Regions from separate parts of the Homo sapiens genome. Here region 1 is linked to region 2. Evidence: promoter capture Hi-C in 16 types of primary human blood cells and fetal thymus (Javierre and others, 2016). All regions are on one chromosome and are shown on one strand. Each heading gives the region's core, a stretch centred on a gene start or on the middle of the fragment in contact. The rest is flanking DNA. Distances are from core to core; before and after follow the strand shown. Region 1 overlaps PNKD (PNKD metallo-beta-lactamase domain containing). Region 2 holds the start of VIL1 (villin 1).

Region 1 (3,855 bases), core at 904-3,403, 72 kb before region 2:
CCCCTCCTCCTTCCCTACTCCTGGGACGGCAGCAAGGACATGGGGGCTGCTGTTAGCTTCTCCGTCAGGAGGCCTCATCTCACTGTAGCCCTGGAACCCAGGGTCCATCTTGCCCTTCCCCCATCCATGGTTGGGAAAGAAGCTCAGCCCCTCACAGTGGCCTCAAGTGTGATGCCTTACAAAAGCACCACTCAGATGGGCAGCTGGACTCTGGTGTCCTGAGACTCTGCCCTCTTCCCACAGCCTCCCTGCCCCACCCATCCCTGCAAAGCCATTTTTCAGACAGAGCCATTCCTAAGAACACTGAAGGGCTGGAATGCTGGCTGGCCACTCTCTGCCTCAGTGGCCTCCCTACAGCCTGGAAGAAGGAGGGTCCTGATTGCCAAGGAAACCTCCTCATTGGGCTAAGGAGACACTGGAGTCTGGAGTGTGGAGCCCCACAGTCTTGCAGGTCACATGCTCTCCTTGCACATCTGGCCTGGTTGTACCCACTGGCCTCTGCCTCTGCCCTGGGCCAAAAGGGCCCCTCCTTGCCAGGGGAGAGACAGCCACGGTCCTCTTTGGCCGATGCTGTATTCTCATTTTGGCCCTTGTTCTTAGGCCCGTCTGCCCGCCTTCCTCCATCTAACCTTTCCTGTTTTATCCGCAGCCCTTTTCTTCTTTGAGTTAGTAAAGATTTATTCTGTAACCTGACACTCATCTGGCCCTTTGCAGTTTGCCAGCCATATTCCCATGTGATTTCCCACTGGATCCAGGCCCCCATCCGGCTGGCAGGAGGGGGCTCTGACGTGCAGGTTGGAAATCAGAAGTCTGTGAGAGCGCGGGAGTGCATGGCAGCTCTGGGTCCCAGACCTGGCCCGACCCCTCTGCTTCACCTCCAGCTCTGCTGCTCCTCTACTCTTGGGTCGAGATCCCTTTGGAGCCACAGCGAGGAACCCTGTGGTCCTCAGGCAGGTGTACCTTGAGTCAGCCAGGAGCCCTCTTTTCCTGTGTCAAAGCCTGCCCTCGGGCTCTGCTCACCTCTGGTGACCCTCCAAGATGCCCCTGCCCTCAGTTTCCCCTCATGATCTGGCCTCTGCCCCCTTCTCTAGCCACAGCCTCTAGTACACTTTAGCAATACCACCAGACTAGTTAGAGTTCCCCACTCACCAAGCAAGACATGCAGTTTCATGCCTCTGTGCCTTCGCTCATGCTGTTTCTTCCGACTGGAATGCCTTCCCCTGCTCCTCCTGCCTTGTCTGCCTGGCAAGTTCATCTCTCACGATCCCCTCAAAGGCCCCCTCCTCCAGGAAGGCAACCCCTGTGCCCCTCCCCTCCAGGCTACCTCTGCACTTTGTCAATGCTTCTCTTGTGGCACTTATCACACTGTATTTTACTTGTTTACATGTTTGTCTCCCCTTCTAGACTGTGAATCCTTAAGGGCATGGACTGTATCTTATGCATCTCTGTATTTCTGCGCCTAGCACGGTGCCTAGCACACAGTAGGCGCTCAATAAATGTTGAATGAATGAATGATTTAATCAAGACTTGATCACCCAACAGCTTGTCTTTGTTGCTACATGAGTGAAAACAGCAGAGAACTTTCTCACAGTTTTCCCATCTCAGTTCCAGGCCTGCTAACTTGCAGTTAGGCACTTCAAGAGTTTTGATCAGAAATGATGCCCAAAGGCTGGGCGCAGTGGCTCACACCTATAATCCCAGCTCTTTAGGAGGCTGAGGCGGGTGGATCACAAGGTCAGGAGTTCGAGACCAGTCTGGCCAACATAGTGAAACCTCATCTGTACTACAAATACAAAAAATTAGCCAGACATAGTGGCAGGAGCCTATAATCCCAGCTACTCAGGAGGCTGAGGCAGGAGAATCACGTGAACCCAGGAGGCGGAGGTTGCAGTGAGCCGAGATCGCACCACTGCACTCCAGCCTGGGCGACAGAATGAGACTCTGTCTCAAAAAAAAAAAAAATTTTTTTAAAAAGAGAGAGAGAAATGATGCCTAAAATATGTTCTTCCCAAGGCCCATGGGCATTTGTTCAGGGTTTACGATTTGCTTATCTCAATGTTTCCCAAAGCTTGAGATACACAAGTGTACCACTGGCCAAAGTAGGGTGGCTGTACATGGCCACAGCACAGCAATCAATTGGACTTCAAGGACACGGTCTTGGCACTAGTCTGTCTTTAATGTCTTTGGAAAGAAAGACCCGGGATCCAGGTTCATACTTTAGTTGGGAAATGTCTGTAGTTAAGCTTTAACAACATCGTTTTGTTTTCATTATATTTATATTTGGGTTCAATATTTATTTTTGACAAGTGACACTGGTTTTCAGTTCATAAAAATGATTAAAGGGCCGGGCGTGGTGGCTCACGCCTGTAATCCCAGCACTTTGGGAGGCTGAGGCAGGCGGATCACGAGGTCAGGAGATCACGACCATCCTGGCCAACATGGTGAAACCCCGTCTCTACTAAAAATACAAAACTTAGCAAGGCATGATGGTGAGCGCCTGTAATCCCAGCTACCCAGGAGACTGAGGCACGAGAATCGCTGAACCCGGGAGGCAGAGGTTGAAGTAGGCCAAGATCGCACCACTGTACTCCAGCCTGGGCAACAGAGGGAGATTCTGTCCCAAAAAAAAAAAAGATGAAATTTGGGTGGGGACAAAAAGCCACACCATATCATTATAATAGAACAACTTATATTCCTTTGGGTATATAACCAGTAATGGGATTGCTGGGTCGAATGGTAGTTCTGTCTTTAGGTCTTTGAGGAAACACCACACTGTCTTCCACTTTGGTTGAACAAATTTACACTCCCGCCAACAGTGTATAAGCGTTCCTTTTACTCTACAACCTTTCCAGCGTCTGTTATTTTTTGACTTTTTAATAACAGCCATTCTGACTTGTGTGAGATGGTATCTCATTGTGGTTTTGATTTGCATTTCTCTAATGATGAGTGATGTTGAGCTTTTATTCATATGTTTGTTGTCCACATGTATGTCTTCTTTTATTTATTTATTTATTTATTTTTAATTGATCATTCTTGGGTGTTTCTCGCAGAGGGGGATTTGGCAGGGTTATAGGACAATAGTGGAGGGAAGGTCAGCAGATAAACAAGTGAACAAAGGTCTCTGGTTTTCCTAGGCAGAGGACCCTGCGGCCTTCCGCAGTGTTTGTGTCCCTGGGTACTTGAGATTAGGGAGTGGTGATGACTCTTAACGAGCATGCTGCCTTCGAGCATCTGTTTAACAAAGCACATCTTGCACCGCCCTTAATCCATTTAACCCTGAGTGGACACAGCACATGTTTCAGAGAGCACAGGGTTGGGGGTAAGGTCATAGATCAACAGCATCCCAAGGCAGAAGAATTTTTCTTAGTACGGAACAAAATGGAGTCTCCTATGTCTACTTCTTTCTACACAGACACAGCAACAATCTGATTTCTCTATCTTTTCCCCGCATTTCCCCCTTTTCTATTCCACAAAACCACCATCGTCATCATGGCCCGTTCTCAATGAGCTGTTGGGTACACCTCCCAGATGGGGTGGCCGCCAGGCAGAGGGGCTCCTCACTTCCCAGAAGGGGTGGCCGGGCAGAGGCGCCCCCCACCTCCCAACGGGGCGGCGGCCGGGCGGAGGCGCCCCCAACCTCCCGGACGGGGCGGCTGGCCGGGCGGGGGCTGTCCCCCCCTCCCTCCCTGATGGGGCGGCTGGCCGGCCGGGGGCTGGACCCCGCCTCCCTCCCGGACGGGGCGGCTGTCTTCTTTTTTTTGTTTTTTGAGACAGAGTCTCCCTCTGTCACCAGGCTGGAGTGCAGTGGTGCGATCTCGGCTCACTACAACCTCCACCTCCCGGGTTCAAGCGATT
Region 2 (4,001 bases), core at 965-3,464:
CAGCACTTTGGGAGGCCTAGGTGGGCGGATCACTTGAGGTTAGGAGTTTGAGACCAGCCTGGCCAACATGGTGAAACCATGTCTCTGATAAAAATACAAGAAAAATTAGCTGGGTGTGGTGGTATGCACCTGTAGTCCAGCTACTCGGGAGGCTGAGATGGGAGAATTGCTTGAACCCAGGAGGCAGATGTTGCTGTGAGCCGAGATCATGCCATTGCACTCCAGCCTCGGTGACAGAGCGAGACTTCATCTCCAAAAAACAAAAATAAAGACAACCCCCCACCCAAAGTAACACTTATTTTACTAAATAATGCAAGAGTAGCGATGCTGGCAATTTGGAAGTGCCAAAAAGAAGCCATAAAATGTTTCCTTTAAATGAAAAGGTAATAGTTCTCAATAAGGAAAGAACAAAAAACATCATATACTGAGGTTGCTAAGATCTATGATAAGAATGCATCTTCTGTTCATGAAATTGTGAAGAAGGAAACAGAAATTTGTGTTAATTTTGCTGGTGTACCTCAAACTGCAAAATGCAGCCACAGTGCAGGATAAGTGCTAATGAAAATAGAAGGGGCTTCAATTTGTGGGTGGAAGACACGAACAGAAACATGCTCCAGCTGATGGCAGCCAGGTTCGGTACGATCCGAGGTTTTAAGGCATCCACTGCGGGTCCTGGAATGTATCCCCCGTTGGATAAGGGGGGGACTACTGTACATTTGGTCTCCAGAACTCTTGGGAGGCTGTGATGAGAAGGACGTACTGCCCTCACCCAGCCCACTTCACGTCACCCTCCTAAGGACCAGGCTTCACAGGTGATAGGAGAATTTCTGCAGTCTGGGAGGCAGCTGCCCAAGGTGCTGAGTTTGCGTGTGAAGCTGGTTTCTCAGCGAGATCCACGCTGGAGTTGGCTGCACAACTTTCCTGCCTGAGTGAGATGGATCCCCTAGGGTCAGGGGTCAGACATGGAAACCTTGGCTTCTGGGAGAGGGTAGCAGAACAGAGTTCAAAGGCACTGGTTTATGGCATCTCATAAAAACTCCAGGTGGGCCGGGTGCAGTGGCTCACGCCTGTAATCCCAGCACTTTGGGAGGCCGAGGTGGGCGGATCACGAGGTCAAGAGTTCAAGACCAGCCTGGCCGACATGGTGAAACCCCGTCTCTACTAAAAATACAAAAATTAGCTGGGCGTGGTGGTGTGCGGCTGTAATCCCAGCTACTCGGGAGGCTGAGGCAGGAGAATCACTTGAACCCAGGAGGCGGAGGATGCAGTGAGATGAGATCACGCCACTGCACTCCAGCCTGGGCGACAGAGACAGACTCCATCTCAGCAAAAAAAACGAAAACAAAAAAAACACTCCAGGTGGAGCCAGTGCCCCTAAGGGTGGAGAGGAGGAGCAGTTGTGCTCACTGGGGCCCTTGCTAAGTGAGGGTCATGCTGAGAAGAGACCTCTAGGAGACCTCTAAGAGACCTCCCATCTGTTCTGGAGGGGCCCTGAGTATAAGTCCCTGCATTCCTGGGTTTGGGGCTTCTGCAACCCTAGAGTCCTGCCTCTCTTTCTCCATGAACCATTCACCCCAGGGCAGGTGGGAGGACAGCTGAGCCTCCTTCTCTTGGTTGGTAGGAGGAAAGGTTCAGGCGCCGCTGACCCTACCTGGACAGTGCTGTCTGCCTGTGGTGAGGGCCTGGGCCCTGGGCAGAAAAGCACCCCATCCCTTGCTCACTCAGAAGCCAAGGGAGGGGCTGGGCGCCGGGCCTCACACCTGTAATCCCAGCACTTTGGGAGGTCGAGGCAGGTGGATCATTTGAGGTCAGGAGTTCAAGTCCAGCCTGGCCAACATGGTGAAACCCTGTCTCTGCTAAATATACAAAAATTAGCCAGGCATGGTGGCACATGTCTGTAGTCCCAGTTACTTGGGAAGCTGAGGCAGGAGAATCACTTGAACTTGGGAGGCGGAGGTTGCAGTGAGTCGAATTCATACCACTGCACTCCAGCCTGAATGACAGAGTGAGGCTCAAAAAAAAAAAAAAGCCAAGGGTGGGGCACATCAGCTCTCATTGTCAGGCTGTGGAGGGCTCTGGGCTCCCAGGGACCTGGCAGCACCTGCCTCCCCACCCCCTCACCTCTCTGGGGCCCTATCTTCCCTTATATGGTGAAGGCAGTTCCTAGAGGAGGGGGGGTGGGGACAAAGGTCGCTCTTCTGCAGCCAGCTTGCCACAATTCCCTGAGATCTCCCAGGTGGCAGCTGCCTCCCCAAGACAGGTAAGGCAACCTGGTGGGAACACATGGAGACCTTAGGTGGTGCGAGGGGACGGGGTCCTCTGCTTTTCTCGGGCAACTTGGGGCCTCCTGGAGCACCTTGGTACGGGCTCGAAGGGGAGGCTTGACACTCTGGATAGCGTGAGAAGTGCTGGGAGCCCAGTGTGTCTGCCCTGGGCCTCCAGGGAGAGACTTTTGCAGGCCCTGCCCCAGACAATGGCTCTCTCAGTCTCCTACCTGTGGCTAGCCCCATCCCACTTTGGGTGTCACCATCCCAATTGCCCTGGAACTTCTAGAGTTAAAACCAGGACAGTGCTGGGCAGACCGGGACTAGTTGGTCTCCCTGACCTCACTCCCCGAGCCCCCTCCCCACCAGCTCATCTCTTTGCCCGTGCGTTCTTCATCTGAAGTGTTTTTTTCTTTGTGTCACCATTCCTCTGACACTCCTGGGACCTCCGGGTCCTGCCTCCTGGCTCCTAGCATATGAGCAACAGCCACCAGCAATTGAATGGGCACACACAGAGGCAAGGGCAGAGGCAAGGGGCTGGAGGTGGCAGGGCCTTAGGTCCTGGGCCATGCCGGGCCACCCTAGCATGCACCTCTGCCCCATCTCCCCTCTACCCGGAGCTGCCCCATTGGCCTCCCCAGCCACTGTGGGCCCATTCAGCAGAACTAGGAATGGGAGCTAGCTGCAGACCAGGCTCTGAGGACACACTGGCTGCTGTCTTCTCGGGACATCATCTGCTGGGGCAGAGCCTTTGGGCTGGAGGGTCTTGGCGGGTGTCCATTCCCTCTTCTATCATGAGCCTGGGAAGCAGGAGGATGTCCTTTGTCTGAGGGGTGGGACTTCACCCCCACTGCCCCACCACATTCCTGTCCAGCTCAGAGCTGCACGACTGGGAACTAGGAGCCGTGGCAGCACCCCACTTACAACAGAGCCGCAACTCAAGTACAACAGGGCTCAGATAAGAAAGGCATGGTGGGCCAGGTGCAGAGCCTCATGCTTGGAATCCCAGCACTTTGGGAGGCCAAGTGGGGTGGATCACTTGAGGTCAGGACTTCAAGACCAGCCTGACCAACATAGTGAAACCCCGTTTCTACTAAAAATACATAATTAGCTGGGTGTGCTCGCGCACGCCTATAGTCCCAGCTACTCGGGAGGCTGAGGCACGAGAATCGCTTGAACCCAGGAGGCGGAGATGACAGTGAGCCAGAATTGCACCATTGCACTCCAGCCTGGGTGACAGAGTGAGACTCTGTCTCAAAAAAAAAAAAAAAAAAAGAAAAGAAAAAAAGAAAAAAGAAAGAAAGGCAAGATGGACCTGCAGACAGTGGGAGCCCAAACCCCTCCAGTGCCCTGGGAGGGTCCTCCTTCCATCCCACAGTTCAGCCTTTCAGCATCATGAGTATTTGTTTTTTTTTTTTTTGTTTTTTTTTTGAGAAGGAGTCTCACTCTTTCATCCAGGCTGGAGTGCAGTGGCGTGATCTCAGCTCACTGCAGGCTCCACCCCCTGGGTTCACGCCATTCTCCTGCCTCAGCCTCCCGCGTAGCTGGGACTACAGGCGCCCACCATCTCGCCCGGCTAATTTTTTGTATTTTTAGTAGAGACAGGGTTTCACCGTGTTAGCCAGGATGGTCTTGATCTCCTGACCTCGTGATCCGCCTGCCTCGGCCTCCCAAAGTGCTGGGATTACACGCGTGAGCCACCACGCCCAGCCCATGAGTATTTGTTGAGCACCTACT

Evidence for each region. Contacts are between HindIII fragments. The CHiCAGO score rates a contact against its expected background, and 5 or more counts as called.
Region 1: a contact is called between a fragment that was not itself captured here and the fragment with the promoter of VIL1 in region 2, in 2 of 17 cell types (monocytes and neutrophils). The highest score is 6.8, in monocytes.

The regions. Positions count from the first base shown.
Region 1 is chr2:218,345,268-218,349,122 of GRCh38, forward strand. It overlaps PNKD (PNKD metallo-beta-lactamase domain containing), which reads left to right. Exons shown (of 10, transcript NM_015488.5): 10 at 1-1,526. All of the region lies in intron 2 of CATIP-AS2 (CATIP antisense RNA 2), which reads right to left. Among named protein-coding and RNA genes, the nearest start is that of MIR6810, 5.3 kb to the left of the region's middle. RefSeq lists an enhancer at 3,647-3,855. The HindIII fragment of the contact is 175 bases long and covers 2,067-2,241 here.
Region 2 is chr2:218,416,909-218,420,909 of GRCh38, forward strand. It overlaps VIL1 (villin 1), which reads left to right and starts at 2,215. Exons shown (of 20, transcript NM_007127.3): 1 at 2,215-2,260. The HindIII fragment of the contact is 19,335 bases long and covers 1-4,001 here.